Regions from separate parts of the Homo sapiens genome. Here regions 1, 3 and 4 are each linked to region 2. Evidence: promoter capture Hi-C in human tissues and cell types (Jung and others, 2019). All regions are on one chromosome and are shown on one strand. The core of a region is centred on a gene start or on the middle of the fragment in contact, and the rest is flanking DNA. Distances in the headings are between cores, read along the strand shown. Region 1 holds the start of PRSS21 (serine protease 21). Region 2 holds the start of KREMEN2 (kringle containing transmembrane protein 2). Region 3 has its middle 2.6 kb from the start of TRR-CCG1-3. Region 4 overlaps SRRM2-AS1 (SRRM2 antisense RNA 1).

What was found. The method cuts DNA at HindIII sites, captures the fragments that hold promoters and counts their contacts. A contact is called where the count stands out against the background at its distance.
Region 1: a contact is called between the fragment with the promoter of PRSS21 here and the fragment with the promoter of KREMEN2 in region 2, in 2 of the 25 tissues and cell types used here (lymphoblastoid cells and mesenchymal stem cells).
Region 3: a contact is called between a fragment that was not itself captured here and the fragment with the promoter of KREMEN2 in region 2, in 1 of the 25 tissues and cell types used here (spleen).
Region 4: a fragment that was not itself captured here is called in contact with the fragment with the promoter of KREMEN2 in region 2 in 1 of the 25 tissues and cell types used here (dorsolateral prefrontal cortex).

The regions. Positions count from the first base shown.
Region 1 is chr16:2,814,625-2,819,039 of GRCh38, forward strand. PRSS21 (serine protease 21) reads left to right here and starts at 2,613. Exons shown (of 6, transcript NM_006799.4): 1 at 2,613-2,708; 2 at 2,806-2,832; 3 at 3,177-3,342; 4 at 4,053-4,345. The coding sequence starts at 2,645. RefSeq lists an enhancer at 315-815 and silencers at 2,481-2,760, 2,871-2,930. The HindIII fragment of the contact is 10,567 bases long and covers 965-4,415 here.
Region 2 is chr16:2,962,357-2,966,190 of GRCh38, forward strand. KREMEN2 (kringle containing transmembrane protein 2) reads left to right here and starts at 1,919. Exons shown (of 9, transcript NM_172229.3): 1 at 1,919-2,258; 2 at 2,503-2,677; 3 at 3,784-3,834. The coding sequence starts at 2,165. RefSeq lists enhancers at 1-153, 154-1,151, 638-767, 2,736-3,695, 3,298-3,417 and silencers at 848-927, 958-1,087, 1,638-1,717, 2,248-2,497, 2,568-2,937. The HindIII fragment of the contact is 31,540 bases long and covers 1-3,834 here.
Region 3 is chr16:3,145,941-3,150,152 of GRCh38, forward strand. It overlaps the pseudogene CASP16P. Among named protein-coding and RNA genes, the nearest start is that of TRR-CCG1-3, 2.6 kb to the right of the region's middle. RefSeq lists an enhancer at 3,807-3,856. The HindIII fragment of the contact is 3,003 bases long and covers 139-3,141 here.
Region 4 is chr16:2,734,701-2,738,768 of GRCh38, forward strand. SRRM2-AS1 (SRRM2 antisense RNA 1) reads right to left here. Exons shown (of 6, transcript NR_027275.1): 4 at 3,742-3,800; 5 at 2,780-2,910; 6 at 2,376-2,588. Among named protein-coding and RNA genes, the nearest start is that of SRRM2-AS1, 16 kb to the right of the region's middle. RefSeq lists an enhancer at 3,880-4,068. The HindIII fragment of the contact is 8,627 bases long and covers 1-4,068 here.

The DNA of each region.
Region 1 (4,415 bases), core at 1,363-3,862, 150 kb before region 2:
TTCAGGGGCCTTCTTTCTAACTCCAGGCTGACAGGGTTTGGCGCCCAGAAGGAGAGTCACTTGGGCCAGGACTCCAGAAGCACCAGCTGAGGTTGAGGGGACTTGGTGGAAGGGATAGTTAGCAGCCTGGCCAGAGGGGCGCCAGGACTCACCCAAATGCACACTGGAGGGGATGTTCAGATGGCACGAGAACGGGGATCACACATGGTCGTTCACACACGTGCACTTGAAGATGCATGCACACACATACACCCAGACACACACACCCGCCCAGCCTCTCCTGCACGCAGGGGGCATGCACACACGAGGACGCTCCTCACCTGCATGCCTGACCTGGGGAAGAAGCCCACCTGGTGGGAGGCACCCTCCTCCCACCCTCCATCTGCCATGGCCCAAGTGCTGGCCCCGAGCCCGTGCCCAGGGAGACTCAACACAGGCCCTTTGTCCCTTGGGATCAGGGCTCCCAAGAGAGGGATTTACTGAGCATTTATTTCCTGCCCCGGGCACGCCCCAGTCCTCATTCTGCCAGGAGAAGGGAACAATGAGGCCTTCTCCTGCCCGCAGAGGTGGCTCCGGGCCGGCTGGCCCTTATGTGTCAGGAGTCGGGTTAGGACCACAAGTCCCTGTCCTCCCTGCCCTCCAGGTGTGGGGCTTGGGAAGACCCCTCTGTGACTCTGCAGCCTGAGGCACAGCAGACAAGAGAGTCTCCATCTGCAGCCCATGCAGCAGCCAGGGCCTCCCTGCAGCCCCCGGGCCAGGCTTGGCCTCTGCGGGAAGCCCCCAGCCTCACTGGAGGCAAGAACCTGAGTCCCTGGCTCAGATCTCCGGGTAGGACTGGCCTGACTGAGACCCTGGGCAAAACCAGGAGCTGACACCTCCTAGGGGCCTCAGCGGATCCCTGGGACTCAGGAACCAGAGGGAACGTCCTGCTGGCTGGGAGAGGGGCAGGATCAGAAGCCCAGGGACCTTTGCCCCAACCCAGCAGGCCAAGGCCAGGCTGTGCATGTGACTTGTCCTTGAGCAGCTGCTGCTGGGGAAGGAGGCCCTGAGGGAAGGCACCGCAGCCTTGTGCTCCTGAAACCCGAAGCTCCCACACACCCGCTGCGCCCTCATTGAGTTCCCGTTGGTACCATGCTCTGTGCTAAGCATTTTATCTGTACTTTCCCCAAAGAAACTTAATACTTTTATTGGAAAACCAGAACGCCTAACCACACATTTTGCCTAATCTTTCATGTAATTAACCTTCCACTAGTGCAAGTGTTGAAAGTAGAATACGCTATTCCCAAGTTTCAAGTTGAGGGAGGCGGGATTCCCAGGTTCTGGTTGTACATTCCCATTTTCACTGATCTGTTCAGTGGTCAATGGATTCTTGGGTTGCTTTCATGTCAGCTACTGTGAATAATCCTGCTATGAACATGGGTATACAAATATCTCTTGAAGGCTGGGTGGGGTGGCTCACACCTTCACCCTGGCACTTTGGGAGGCCGCAGAGGGCAGATCACCTGAGGTCAGAAGTTCAAGACCAGCCTGGCCAACATGGCGAAACCCCATCTCTACTAAAAATACAAAAATTAGCTAAGCATGGTGGCAGGTGCCTCTAATCCCAGCTACTCTGGAGGCTGAGACAGGAGAATCACTTGAACCCAGGAGGCAGATGTTGCAGTGAGCCAAGATCGCACCACTGCACTCCAGCCTGAGCGATGGAGCAAGACTCCATCTCAAAAACAAACAAAACTAAATCCCCCCAAAAAACCAAAAACAAATATCTCTTGAAGACCTTCCTTTCAGTTCTTTTGGGTGTATGCTCAGAAGTGGAATTGCAGCTGGGCGCGGTGGCTCATGCCTGTAATCCCAGCACTTTGAGAGGCCGAGGTGGGCGGATTACCTGAGGTCAGGAGTTGGAGACCAGCCTGGTTAACATGGCGAAACCCCGTCTGTACTAAAAATACAAAAATGAGCCAGGTGTGCTGGCGCGCGCCTGTAACCCCAGCTACTTGGGAGGCTGAGGCAGGAGAATCGCTTGAACCCAGGAGGTGGAGGTTGCAGTGAGCTGGGATCACGCCAATGCACTCCAGCCTGGGCGACAAGAGCGAAACTCCATCTCAAAAAAAAAAAAAATTGTTCCAGAGAAGTGAAGAGAGCCCAGCGGGAGCCCGCAGTGGGGACAGCCTGGGCAGAGACTTGGGGAGATCCCCATTCTGGGTGGAACGGGCCGAGGACCACTGTTTTCCCAAGAAGGTCCCATGAAGGAGCAGCCATGCCTCTAGGCCCCACCCGGCCTTCAGGGGGTCCCCAGGCTTTAAGGGGACTCCTGGCTCAGGGCCAGGCCCTTGGTGCTGGAGGAGGTTGTAGGTGGAGGACGGGGTCACCAAGAGGGCAGCCGGGACCCCTGGGCTGCAGACAAGAAAGGGACTGTGGGGTCCACCGGGTCTGGGCCACATCAAGAAGTGTGGTTGAAGACCCGCCCCTAGGGGCTGAAAGCCAGGGCGCTGCCAGGCATGAGAGGCCCCAAACAGCCCTTGGGCCCAGGAGGGTGAAGCTGGGAGTAGAGGGCAGAGCTCCCACCCCGCCCCGCCCCCAGGGGGCGCCCCGGGCCCGGCGCGAGAGGAGGCAGAGGGGGCGTCAGGCCGCGGGAGAGGAGGCCATGGGCGCGCGCGGGGCGCTGCTGCTGGCGCTGCTGCTGGCTCGGGCTGGACTCAGGAAGCCGGGTGAGCTCGGGGCGCTGCTGGCGGGATGGGGAGGCGGGGGAGCGGTGGGGAGGACGGGAGGTGGAGGCCGCGGGGAGTCACTTCTTGTCTCCCGCAGAGTCGCAGGAGGCGGCGCCGTTATCAGGTAGGGCGCCCAGGACGCGCGATTCCTGCCAGGGCCGTTGGGCCGAGGTGGACGGGGGGCGGTGAGGGGGTAGAGGGGGGCCTTTACTGCTCTCTCGCCCCCGCCCCCGGGATCGAGAACTCTGTTGGCGTGGAAAGTAACTAACGGACGCTGGAGGGGGATGGGCGGGCCCTGCAGAGCACGTGGGAGGATCTCCAGTGTCACCTACTTCCTGCTGCACACACGCGAGGGGACCCTGGGTGGGCAAAAACGTGCTTTCCCGGACGGGGTTGAAGGGGAGAAAGGGAGAGGTCGGGCTTGGGGGGCTGCCTCCCGCGGCTCAGCAGTTCCTCTGACCATCCGAGGACCATGCGGCCGACGGGTCATCACGTCGCGCATCGTGGGTGGAGAGGACGCCGAACTCGGGCGTTGGCCGTGGCAGGGGAGCCTGCGCCTGTGGGATTCCCACGTATGCGGAGTGAGCCTGCTCAGCCACCGCTGGGCACTCACGGCGGCGCACTGCTTTGAAACGTGAGTGGGGGTGCGAACGGAGGGGTGCGGGGACGGGCAGGAACAGGGCTGGAGGGAGTGCCACCGAACTTTACCTCTGGTCTGATGCCAGACTTGGGCGTGAAAGTTGTGCGTGGATGCGGCCTGGTGTTCTCCTGAGCCCCAGGCTGTGCTGCAGCCGGTTACACCCACTCCAGTTCCCTTTGGGTCTCCTGGAGGGAACCCTGTTCAGGTTATTCCAGAATGTTCTTCCAGAACATTTCCACACACTTTTGGGTATTCTCTCCCTTTTTCTTTCAACCCAAAGTTCACCACTGACCATCCCACCCTCATCCCCCCTCCTGGTGGACGGTGCGGTACAGTGTGGGGCACTGAGCCAAGGCCAGCACCCCCGGGCCGCTGTGTGGACTCCATCCTGCCAATCCCACATTGGCGTGGTGCATCTCCCCATTCCTCCTTGGGCTGCATGGGGGTGCCCCTGGAGGCCTTGGCTCAATGCAAGGCTCCTTGGGACAGCTCTGGGAGGTGACAAGACCCCACCCTTCTGCTGCAGGAGCAGGTCCTAGGACTTTGGTTGTGGTCTGTCTGGGCTCCTTCATTTCTGCAGGGGACCCTGGGTGTTAGCAAGTAGCAGCAACACCACAGTTTCCCCTCCTGCACTGGACCCCAGTTGTGCTCAGGTAGCCAGCCCTCCATCCAGGGCCCCTGACTGCTCTCTTCTCTTCTGCCAGCTATAGTGACCTTAGTGATCCCTCCGGGTGGATGGTCCAGTTTGGCCAGCTGACTTCCATGCCATCCTTCTGGAGCCTGCAGGCCTACTACACCCGTTACTTCGTATCGAATATCTATCTGAGCCCTCGCTACCTGGGGAATTCACCCTATGACATTGCCTTGGTGAAGCTGTCTGCACCTGTCACCTACACTAAACACATCCAGCCCATCTGTCTCCAGGCCTCCACATTTGAGTTTGAGAACCGGACAGACTGCTGGGTGACTGGCTGGGGGTACATCAAAGAGGATGAGGGTGAGGCTGGGGACAGGCGGGTCAGGGAGGAACTGTCTTTGTTCACCTGTTCCCCTGCATAGGCACAATA
Region 2 (3,834 bases), core at 669-3,168:
AGTGCCAAATGCTGGGGAAGTGGTGGGGGGTGGGCTTCTTAGTTCTGGAAGTTTCCGTGAGTGACCTGAGACTGAAGTTTGCCGCAGGGATACTCCACCCCACTCCATCTCAGTGCCCCAGCCTCAGCACTGAGCACCCACTTCCTCTCACCCCCTGCCCCCTCTGGAGGAGACAGGCCTGGGCCAACCGAACCGGGTGTCACAGTGCCAGGGACAGAGGGACGGTTCTTTCAGACCCTACTCTCTCAAGGGAAGGGGCTGATTCCTCCACCAGCGTCCCAAGCCGGCCCCCTTTCCGCACAGAGTCCTTAATTGTCCCTGTCGCCACCTTGCCCCATCCTCAGATGGCTGTGGCTGTGGGGGTGAAGCTCCCCACGCACCGCCATTGTGCAGGCCTGCCCCTAGGACATCCTCTGTGGACTGGAGCCCGGGAGGACTTCACTGAGCCCCCGCCAAGAGAAACCGGGCAGACAGGTGGTCCCGGATGCTCCCTCGTCGGGAAGCGCAGTTGGGTTCCAGGGAGCCCGTGGGTGCTGGAGGCCCCAGCTCAGGGCTCAGTGAGCCGGGCCAGCCTGGCCTCTGAGAGGGCTCCCGGAGGAGGCGACCAGGACCCTGGCCTAGAGTCTCAGCAAGTCCATCTCCTTCAAATGCCCCCACCTCGGCTCCACGCCCCTCCTCCAGAGCACACTCGCGTGAGGCGCCAGCTGGAAGATCCTCGCGGGTCCCAGCACCGCAGTGGGTGCCTGGGCCTGACAGAACCTCCCTGAACCCCATCTTTCTTCTCCATCGACACCGGGGCAGAGACGGTGTGGGGGCTGCAGGGCGGGGACTGGTCGGCCTGGGCTCGACAGCTTGGCGAGGGCCTGGTGCGGGCTGGGCAGGCTGGACTGAGGGGCAAAGAGGTCTGGGCGGGGCGGGGCCGCTCTGGGCGCCCGGCCCCCACCAGTTCCTTCCCCCGGCCCCCGCCTCCGCCCTCCCACGCACCTGCGCTGGCCTCCCCCCAAGCCCTGGGGGCAGCGGGCGGGTGGCGCTGGGAGATCAGAGGACTCGGAGGAGTCGGGCCCAGGGGGAGGGGGCGGGGAATTTCCCCCCACGCCTGCCTGGGCCTGCTCCCCTCCCCCTCCCCCGCCAGGTGGGGGGCACGGCTGGGGGAATTCCACTGCAGTGTGAAGGCTCGGGAGAGTCTGGGCTGGGGGTCCCAGGGAAGGGCGGGGCAGGGGGAGGAGGAGGGGACAGACTGGGACCTGGGGCGCAGCTGCCTTTCTCCCCAGACACCAGCTGCCCCTGCCTGTCCCGGACTGAGCGTCCACGACTCCCGCCTGTCTCGTGGGCGCGGGGGCAGGGAGTGGAGCTTCCTCCGTCAGGCCAGCGGCATCTGGACCAGGGGCGGGAGGGGCGTGCGGATCCGAAGAAAGTGTGCGCGTGAGCGCCTGGCAATGAATGGGAGAGAGTGCGAGCGCGTGCGTGCACTGGGAGGAGGGCGCTTGTAACTCGGACATTCCGGGTGTCCTGGGGCGCGTGCGACCACGTGAGGGGGTTCTGTATCTCCCATTTTAAGGGCCTTCCGTCCGCTTGCCCCGCCTGTCCCCCTCCACACCTTCCCACTTGAACCGGCACCGACCTGAGGGAGAGGGGGCCGGGAAGCGCTGGACGCCCGGGGTCGGGGGAACGGGCGTGGGAGGCGTCTGGACCTGCTGCCTCCGCTCCAGTGCTGGGCGGGGCTTCCCGGCCTCCCATGGGGGGAGGGAGAGACCCAGGGGGAGGGACCCACGGAGGGATGCGAGGCGGGCAGGAGTCAGCCCGTTGGAGACCTGGGCGAGGGAGACGCCGAGAGCTAGGCTCAGTGGGAGGGGGCGGGCGTAGAGGCTGAGGCACCGCCCAGAGCTCGCTGAGACAGAGACTGAGAACGCCCCCGGCCAGATTCCCCCCGGAGAGACCCGGGTAGGGACAGGGACAGAGAGACGCCTCTAGGGGCAGAGGCCCTGGGAGGCAAAGACCCCCAGGAGAGATTTACCCACCCCAGACGGAAAGCGCGGCTCAGAGTCGGACGAGGGGAGACTGTCAGAGGACAACGCCCCCTAGGTCTCCTGGGAGACCCCGAAGCGACCCCGGGGGCAGCCCGGGCCGTGTCCGGGCGAGGGTGACCTATCCTTGGTTGAGAGCGATGGGGACACAAGCCCTGCAGGGCTTCCTCTTTCTCCTCTTCCTCCCGCTGCTGCAGCCGCGTGGGGCCTCGGCTGGGAGCCTGCACAGTCCAGGTAAGTCCCCGCACGGCTGTCGGGCCGTGTTCACCACCCCTTCCTCGGCCTCCGCCCCCAGGGCCAGGCCCCCAAGGCTAGGGAGGGGGACAGAGCAGGTGGCCGGAGCAGCTGAGCAGCCCGAGGGCTCCTGCAGGGGCGGGTGCGGGGTCGCTGGCTGGGGACCCAGGCGGGAGGTGGCGTAGGGGCGCGAGGATGCCCGGCGTGGGTCCGGACCTCCCCAGGCCCTGCCTTTGCCGTGCAGGCCTGTCCGAATGCTTCCAGGTGAATGGGGCTGACTACCGCGGCCACCAGAACCGCACTGGCCCGCGCGGGGCGGGCCGCCCGTGCCTCTTCTGGGACCAGACGCAGCAACACAGCTACAGCAGCGCCAGCGACCCCCACGGCCGCTGGGGGCTGGGCGCGCACAACTTCTGCCGGTGAGGGGCGGGGCCTGCGCTGGGGGCGAGGCTGGGCTCACCATTGCAGGGATGGCCCGAAGCGGGGCCTCCGTGCGGGCGGGGTGGAGGTCTGCCGTGGACTGGCAGCCCAGCCTCCTGGAGAACCTGGGGGCGGGGCCAGAATGAGGGGCGGGGCGGGGCGGGGCGGGGCGCGCGGAACCCTGGCGCAAAAGGGATCCTCCTCAGGTGAACAATTTCTGCAGAGCTCCAGTTCAGGGCCAGGAGAGAAACGGACCTGGGCACTCAAAGGACCCGTATGGGCGGGGCCTGGTCAGAGCGGGGGCCGAATGGGCGGGGCCTTGTCAGAGTGGGGCTCTTGTCATACAACTTATTTTGGGGTTCAGAGCCACAGCTACGGTCTGAGGCAGGATGGACCCAGCGGGAGGAGAGCCGCAAAGCTCAGGAGCTCACTTCTGCTTTTAAGTGGGGTTGGAGGCCAGGCGCGGTGGCTCAGCCTGTAATCCCAGCACTTTGGGAGGCCAAGGCAGGCGGATCATCTGAGGTCAGGAGTTCGAGACCAGCCTGGCTACCATGGTGAAACCCCATTTCTACTAAAAATACAAAAAATTAGCGGGGCATGGTGGCGGGCGCCTGTAATCCCAGCTACTCAGGAGGCTGAGGCAGGAGAATCGCTTGAACCCGGGAGGCGGAGCTTGCAGTGAGCAGAGATCGCGCCAATGCACTCTAGCCTGGGTGACAGAGCGAGACTCGTCTCAAAAAAAAAAAAAAAAAGTGGGGTTTGAGGGACGGAAGTGGCTGAGGCCCATGCCGGGTGGGGGTGAAGAATACAGATGGCCTCAAAGTCCTCATATATGGAGTCAAGTCTAGCAACAGCTGAAGCCTAAAAACAGCTCTCAAGTCCCCTTTAATGACTTCCCGCTGTCCACTCGGAAGTCGACGTCCAGTTCCTTCATCAGGCAGAGTTCTGCGTAGACAAAACTGGAATTTGTGGGTGTACAGCAGGCAGCACAGCCGCTCACAGGCACAGAGCCTTGAAGGCCACTTTGAGCATAGGCTGCGGGGCCGGGCCTGGGTTTGCTATTCTTGGGGTGGTGGGAGCCCCACCACCTCCCTCCCACCCGCAGTAACCCAGACGGTGACGTGCAGCCGTGGTGCTACGTGGCTGAGACAGAGGA
Region 3 (4,212 bases), core at 390-2,889, 180 kb after region 2:
GTATGACCTGTCCAAGGCCAGGGCTGCCCTCCTCCTGGCTGTGATCCAAGGCCGGCCTGGGGCCCAGCATGACGTGGAGGCGCTGGGGGGCCTGTGCTGGGCCCTGGGCTTTGAGACCACCGTGAGAACGGACCCTACAGCCCAGGTGAGGGGAAGCCGAGAACTTCCACTGGTGCTCTGAAGGAAGACCACCCCTCCCTAGAAACCTGGGGCCTCTCTCCATCACTGGCAGGAAGTGCACCACAAGTCTAACCTCTGTGCTCCCTGTTGCCTGCATCTGGCCCGTCACTTCCCTGCCTCTGGAAGCCTGGTCTCCAGGGTCCCCGAGGCCTTCCTCACTGGCTGGTTCTCTGGCCCCCCCGCCCCCTCCCCAGCTCAAAGCTTTAGCTCCAAGTCTTGGTTTCCCTCTTGGCTCCCAGCAGCCCACTCCACTCTCCTCACACCTCTCAACTTCTTGGTGCGGCTTCCCCACGAGGGCAGGAGGAGAACTGGCTCCAGGAAGCTGGGTCTCTATGTCACCTCTAAAGAGGCCATGCCAAGGCCTTGCAGGAGGGAGTTAGAAAAGGGCTTCTGGCCGGGTGCAGTGGCTCACGCCTGTAATCCCAACGCTTTAGGAGGCTGAGACGGGTGGATCACTTGAGATTAGGAGTTTGAGACCAGCCTGACTACCATGGTGAAACCTCGTCTCTACTATATAGACAAAATTAGTAGGGCATGGTGGTGCGTGCCTGTAATCCCAGCTACTTGGGAGGCTGAGGCAGGAGAATGGCTTGAACCCAGGAGGCCGAGGTTGCAGTGAGCTGAGATTGTGCCACTGCACTCCAGCCTGGGCGACAGAGCAAGACTCTGTCTCAAAAAACAAAAACAGGCCGGGCACAGTGGCTCACGCCTGTAATCCCAGCACTTTGGGAGGCCGAGACAAGCGGATCACGACGTCAGGAGATCGAGACCATTCTGGCTAACACAGCGAAACCTCATCTCTACTAAAAATACAAAAAATTAGCCGGGTGTGGTGGCATGTACCTGTATTCCCAGCTACTCAGGAGGCTGAGGCAGGAGAATCGCTTGAACCCAGGAGGCAGAGATAGCAGTGAGCCGAGATCGCGCCACTGCACTCCAGCCTGGGTGACAGAGCAAGACTCCTTCCCAAAAAAAAAAAAAAAAAAAAAGAGGGCTTCCTCCCTGGACCTGTGAGTGGCAGGCGGTGGGAGGCCAGGTGGGGCAGGGTCTGGGAAACCTTGTCAGCCTCACAGAGGGCAGCCAGTGGCTGGGGAGGCGGTGGCTTTGGCCCAGGCCTCAACATTGTTCCCACCCCAGGCTTTCCAGGAGGAGCTGGCCCAGTTCCGGGAGCAACTGGACACCTGCAGGGGCCCTGTGAGCTGTGCCCTTGTGGCCCTGATGGCCCATGGGGGACCACGGGGTCAGCTGCTGGGGGCTGACGGGCAAGAGGTGCAGCCCGAGGCACTCATGCAGGAGCTGAGCCGCTGCCAGGTGCTGCAGGGCCGCCCCAAGATCTTCCTGTTGCAGGCCTGCCGTGGGGGTGAGCGGCCCGGCCTCCTACTGCCCTCACTTTCCTCGGCCAAGCTTCAGCCCCCGGGACTCACTGTCTACCTTCTCCAGGGAGCCCGGGTACCTGCCCTTCCCTGCCCCCTCTCCTGTCCTCTCCTAGAGGTCAAGTCCACGACCTTGAACCCTTAACTCTCAACACCTGTCATTCAGCGCTCTGAATGTCTCCAGTCTGGCAAGCCTGCCCTGGAGCTCTGGAGTTGGGTTCTCACCTTGACCCCACATTCACACTAGACCCCTGAGCACCCCCAGGTATCCCCGGAGTGAGACTATCTGCCTCTCCCCACCCTCTTCAGGAAACAGGGATGCTGGTGTGGGGCCCACAGCTCTCCCCTGGTACTGGAGCTGGCTGCGGGCACCTCCATCTGTCCCCTCCCATGCAGATGTCCTGCAGATCTACGCTGAGGCCCAAGGTGGGTTCTGCCTTCCTTCCAGGGCCTGGGCTTGGGCAGGGCTGGTTGTGGGGACCGTCCAGAGAGCATCTCCAGGGCTCTAAGCTGGGGTATGGCTGCCACCTGCATCCTCTGTTTGCCAAGACAATGGGAAGAAAAAAAATCTTCCTAAACCGCAAGGGCCTTTGGGAAGTGGGAGCTTCTTCCCCTGTTGGAGCCTGGCAAGAACCCTGGAGTCGGTAAGGTCAAATAGCTTTTCTGAGGTCACAGCTGTTAAGTGGCTGGGCCGAGCTTTGAACTTCCGTCTGTCATTCCTGCCCTGCACTCTTTCCACCTCCCTGGGCTGCCCTTAAGCCACAGATGGGGAGCTCCCGGGGCTGATGGAGTTCCACGATGTTGATCACTGGAATTGATTCCTCTTGCAGGCAGCTCCTGCAGGGGCACCCCTCCAGGGAGCTCTGACCAAGCAGACATCCTGACGGTCTACTCAGCCGCAGAGGGTAAGGAGATGGGTCATCGGGAGCCTGTGGTTACACAGGGCCCAGCTTCCTGGCCTAAGATCTGGAGTAGCCTTAGGGGCAGCTAGGGCTTAGGGTTGGGGCACAGAGATGCCAGCCCAGCTGTGGTCCAGCCATGTTCCCTACATGGGTTAGGATGTGTAGTAACAGCAGTGATGGTGAGTGCTGTGAGGCGCAGCTGTGCCAACCACTGTGTGTGCAGGTTTCCTCTAGGCTGTGAGTTCCACGAGGCCAGGGTAGACCTGCCTGCCCCAAGGCCCTGCTCAGTGTCTGGCACATAGTAGGTGCACAGTAAATGTTTGTTCAGTAGTGAATCTCTCCATAGGCTCACCTCTGCAAATACCTAGCAACAACTTGTTCCAGATGCAAGAAGTCCCTGCTCCCTGCCCTGTTCTCTTGCCTGATTCCTGGGTCCTGCCTCCTTGTACCCCACTTTCCACCAACAATAGGACCCCTGGGATTGGAAGGCAGAGGGTTGGGGCCTTGGTCTGATGCTCTGGCCCTGATCCCCTGACCTAGGCTATGTGGCCTATCGCGATGACAAGGGCTCAGACTTTATCCAGACACTGGTGGAGGTCCTCAGAGCCAACCCCGGGAGAGACCTTCTGGAGCTGCTGACTGAGGTGTGTTGGGGGGTTCCAGGGTGACAAGTGGCAAGGAGCTGGGTTTGCCCTTCTCCCCAGCCCTGGTATTCTGATCACCTCCTATGAACTCCATTGGCGAAGGAGGGATCCTCTGCCCTCAATACTACAAGATAACCAAACGCAGGATGGCCGACGCTGCACAGATGCCATCCACTGCAGTTCTTAGTCACACGTACTGCAGTCGGGTGGGGAGGAGGACACTGCATGTCATGCGGGGCCACCTGGGCTTGTGCTCAGAGCAGGGTGAACCTGCAGGGCCAGTGGGAAGCTGGCTTTGTAGTGACAAGAGAGTGAGATGCCCCCTGGTTCCCACGGGCAGATGTGGTTGGTTGGTTTGAATATTTCCAAGGCCTGTCAGGGGGCTGAAGTCCATTAGGGTGACGACCAGGTGGGGTGCAGCTGGTCTGCTGAGAGGGGACCTAGGGGGTGGGAGCCTGTCCTGCTGGGTGGGGACATGTCTGGCCAGAGCAGAGGAATTCACCGTTAGGCCTCTGGAGCTCTGCGAGCCTCAAAGATGTCCAGGCAGTCCTTGAAATTTTAGGCCTTGCAATGTACCAAGCCAGGGGCTCTCCCCTGGGGCAGGCTGAGCCCCGGAGGGCTGTAACCCCGGGCGCAGGCTGGGTGTGGTCCTCAGGTCAACAGGCGGGTGTGCGAGCAGGAGGTGCTGGGCCCCGACTGCGATGAACTCCGCAAGGCCTGCCTGGAGATCCGCAGCTCGCTCCGGCGCCGGCTCTGCCTCCAGGCCTGAGGGTGCGGCGGCCACGGGGGCGCTGCTGAGACGGTGGCCAGATCCCAGCGCCATTCTTGCCTCCATCCACCCCCCATCCCCCCGGTTTCCTCATCTGAGAGCGAGGCGTGGCAGCGTGGGGGTGGCCGTGCAATAAATATCTGCCGTGAACAGTGCCTGTTCTCAAGGACGTGTGAAATAAGTGAGATAATGTGTGTAAAGCGCCTGGCACTGCATATGGACGCAATAGTGTCCATGGGAACCGAGTTGGGGCCTGTGCCCAGCTTCCGGGACTTAGGAACCCAACATGGGCTGGACTGGGCTGGGCTGGGTTGGCAGTTCGGTTATGGGAGCGTCCAGGGGGA
Region 4 (4,068 bases), core at 859-3,358, 230 kb before region 2:
CATGAGGTGAGGAGTTCGAGACCAGCCTGACCAACATCGTGAAACCTCGTCTCTACTAAAAATACAAAAATTACCTGGGCGTGGTGGCACACGCCTGTAATCCCAGCTACTCAGGAGGCTGAGGCAGGAGAATCGCTTGAACCCAGGAGGCAGAGGTTGTGGTGAGCTGAGATCACGCCATTGCACTCCAGCCTGGGCATCAAGAGCAAAACTCCATCTCAAAAAATAAAAAAAAAAAAAAAAAAAAGAAAAAGAAACCACAATGAGATGAACAATAAAAGAAATCTCTCCTCAAAGAGCCTCACGCTGTGACCTCAAGTCCCTGAATGAGACAACCACCACCCGTCCACGATGGTGACAGAGTGGTGCTCATGCCTACGTTTTGGCCAATCTCTCATCACGGACAGGCTGACTAGAAGGACAACACTGTCTGTAAAAATCCTCTTTGGGAAGTTCTTGGGCTGGGGTGGCTCCAGTCCTTCAATTTCTCCATGAAGAAACCATGCCCTATGGGAACCACACAGTTAATCCAGAAATGGCGCCAGCCTGAAACCACCAGCCCTAACGAGAGACTTTCCACTCTAACCGTCGAGTTGTTTTCCTGGGTTTGCTTCTGCAAATGCTTGGTAAGTGTCCCCCTGGCTCTCCCTGAGAGTGCTAGTCACCCACAGTCTTGTGATAGGAGGGTTCATTGAGCAATACATGCTCAAATAAACTTTTTTTCTTTTTAAAAAATTTTTAATAAATAGAGATAAGGTCTCACTCTGTTGCCCAGGCTGGTTCCAAACTCTGAAACTCAAGTGATCCTCCCACCTCAGCATTCCAAAGTGCTAGGATTACAGGTCTGTGCCACCACACCTGGCCTCAAATAAACTTTCTTATTTTTTAAATTTTTTCAAATAAACTTTTTTTTTTTTGAGACGGAGTCTTGCTCTCTTGCCCGGGCTGGAGTGCAGTGGTGTGATCTTGGCTCACTGCAACCTCCACCTCCCAGGCTCAAGTGATCCTCTGGCCTCATCCTCCTGAGTAGCTGGGTCTACAGGCACGCACCACCATGCCCAGCTAATTTTTTGTATTTTTGGTAGAGATGGGGTTTCACCATGTTGGCCAGGCTGGTCTCAAATTCCTGAGCTCAGATGATCCACCTGCCTCAGCCTCCCGAAATGCTGGGATTACAGACATGAACCACTGCACCCAGCCCGTTTGCCTTTAAAAGCCTGCTTGTGGCCAGGCACGGTGGCTCACGCCTGTAATCCTAGCATTTTGGGAGGCCGAGGGAGGCGGATTACTTGAAGTCAGGAGTTCCAGACCAGCCTGGCCAGCATGGTGAAACCCCGTCTCTACTAAAAATACAAAAAAATTAGTCAGGCGTGGTGGTGGGTGCCTATAATCCCAGCTACTCGGGGGGGCTGAGGCAGGAGAATCGCTTGAACCCGGGAGGCGGAGGTTGCAGTGAGCCCAGATCCCACCACTGCACTCCAGCCTGGGGAGACAGAGGGAGATTCCATCTCAAAAAAAAAAAAAAAAGCCTGTTACAAAGGCTGAACGGAGCTCATATTCCAATTCTGAGTCTCCCCGGTGGTTGTCTTCACCTTGGCCCAGGCGAGCTCTACTTACAGGGATTTTTGCCTCGCTTTCTTCTTTGGGGGCCCCTACCTAACTCATGACGTTCCCTTCTCTCAGAGCATAGGAACTAGGCCCTGGCTGCTTCAGGCTGTTCTCCCTATCTCAGGATGTTGCATTTCCAGCACGTTCCACAGTTATTCTTGGGAAACACAAGCAGGAAAGGGATTTACCTGGGTGGAATCGCAGTGGCTGAAAAACTGTGGCGGCCCCTGCAAGGAGACCCAGGCTTCCCTGGCTTCCGAGGGCCCATGGTGGGCATCCACCATTCACAGCAAGGTTGGGGGATGCTCAGTGCCTGGGAGCCATCAGTCTGGAAGGCTTCCTGGAGGAGGCGAGACTTAGGCCAGTGAGGTCAGTGACTGGGGGGCATCCCGGGAGGGCCCAGCAAGAAGGGGACAGGGCCCTGGAGAACAGGATGAGGCAGAAGCAAAGGTACAGCCTCCCAGAGGCCCAAGGCGGGGTCCCACTGACCCCTTTCAGGCCAAGGGCAGCAGGAGGTGGAAACCTCAGGGGCCCCCATAGTGTCCAGGCTGGTTTCCAGGCTGAGGGGCTCAGGGCGTGAGGCCTGAGGGGCCCAAGTGGTCTGAGATGACCCAAGCTGGGCAGCCCTGGTAAGGTTACGTGGTGGGGGTGGAGAGTGCTTGGGTGAGGTGGGGTTGGAGCTGGGCCTCAAAGGACCCAGAACCCTGAGGTTTGAAGCCTGGATATGGCAAAGCGTCAGGTATACCATAGGCACTCAATCATTGTGTGCTCGACAAATTTTTGTGTTTTTTTTTAACCCTGAAGTTTACTTTGTTCATACTCAAAATTTAAAATGTGCTGAGCCTGCTGCCCCAGGATGTTCCTGTGCAGGGTGAGCCTCTCATTCTGTGGGGTCCAAGAGCGGGTTCTGCCAGGCCATCTCACAGCTCCCTCCCATGGATGGGTACAGGAGAAAAAAGCAGCATCAGCAGAGGCCTTGCCTGCAGGAGGGCGACAAAAGGCAACAAAAGGAGGGAGGGGGCCTCAGGGTCTTAGAGAGCCGAGCTCCAGTCCTAGCCTTGACCCCAGCCTCCCACACCCATCCTGGGCCTCCCTCTAACTCTCGGGCCCTGCACTGCCCTAGGGACCCCCAGCCAGGCCCTCCCCAGCTGAGGCAGTGCTCTCTCCTGACCTGCAACTGGCTTCTTCCTGATGCCCCACCTATTCCTCGCAAAGCAACCTTGGAGGCAGTAATGCCTGGCACCCAGCTCTTCACAGCCATGTCAGCGTCAGGAGTGACCTCAAAGGCTCTAGAGACGGAATCTGGATGGGGGAAGAATGAACCAGGTGACCTTGGTGACCCCATGCCCACCCCACAGATTGGGCACGTGAGGGACTGTGGGGATCTAGGTCCCACCTGAGAAAAACACCCAGACCCTCAAGATGGCCCCATCCCACCAAACTCAGTGGGGAGAACAGGCCCTGAGCCAATCCCCAGTCTCAGCAGGGGGATGGAGGATAAGGGGTCTGTTGGGTGAATGTGGGAGGAATGAGCCAGGGGATGTCAGTGACCCATGACCTCTGCCCCCCACAGACTGGGGATGTGAGGGGCTGTGTCCCATTAAACACTGGGGCAGGGACCAGAAAAAAACACTGGGACCCTCGAGATGGCCCTGTCCCACCGAGCTCAAGGGGAACAGACCCTAAGGCAGGCCCCAACCCACTCTGCCCTCTGTAGGGATCTCCTGGTGGCCTCAGGGTGGTGACTTTGCCCCTCTGGGCCCTCCCTCCCACAAGCCATGGGGACCACACCCTCCACCCCCAGGCTGGCAGGACAAGCCAGGGGGACACGAGGAGGCTCTCAGAGCAGGACTGGCTGGTGCGGGCCTCACAGTGAGAGCCAGGCATGCTCCAGAGGGGTCTCCAAGCTCTGGGGTCAGGGTCCCTCTGAGTCCCCAGGCACTGCCCCCACTAAACCTGAGAACCCAGCACGGGGATGGAGGCTGGGGGCCTGTTGGGTCCCGTAACATCTCCAGGCCTGTAGCTGGGGACACAGCCTCCTCCATCCATCCTAGGCCCACCTGGTACTCTTCCATCCAACCCCACCCGTGTCCCACTCCCAGCCTAGGCCCTCCCCAGGAGTCTCCTGGTGACCGGAAGCCTCTTTCTGATCTTCTTCACTGGGATGCTGGCCCTTTGGCTGAGCAATATCCCTGGAACCAGAGCGATAGCAAAACACATTATTGACTCCGATGACATACAGATTAGACATTCTCATGGGACAGCCTGGATGGGGGAGGAATGAGCCAGGTGATATCAGTGACCCCATAACCTCTGCCCCCCAACAGACTGGTGACATGAGAGTATGGAAATCAAGGTCCCACCACATGCTGGGGCAGAGACCAGAGAAAAACAGTGGGACCCTTGAGATGGCCCCATCCCACTGAGCTCAGCAGGGAGAACAGGCCCTGAGCCAGGCCC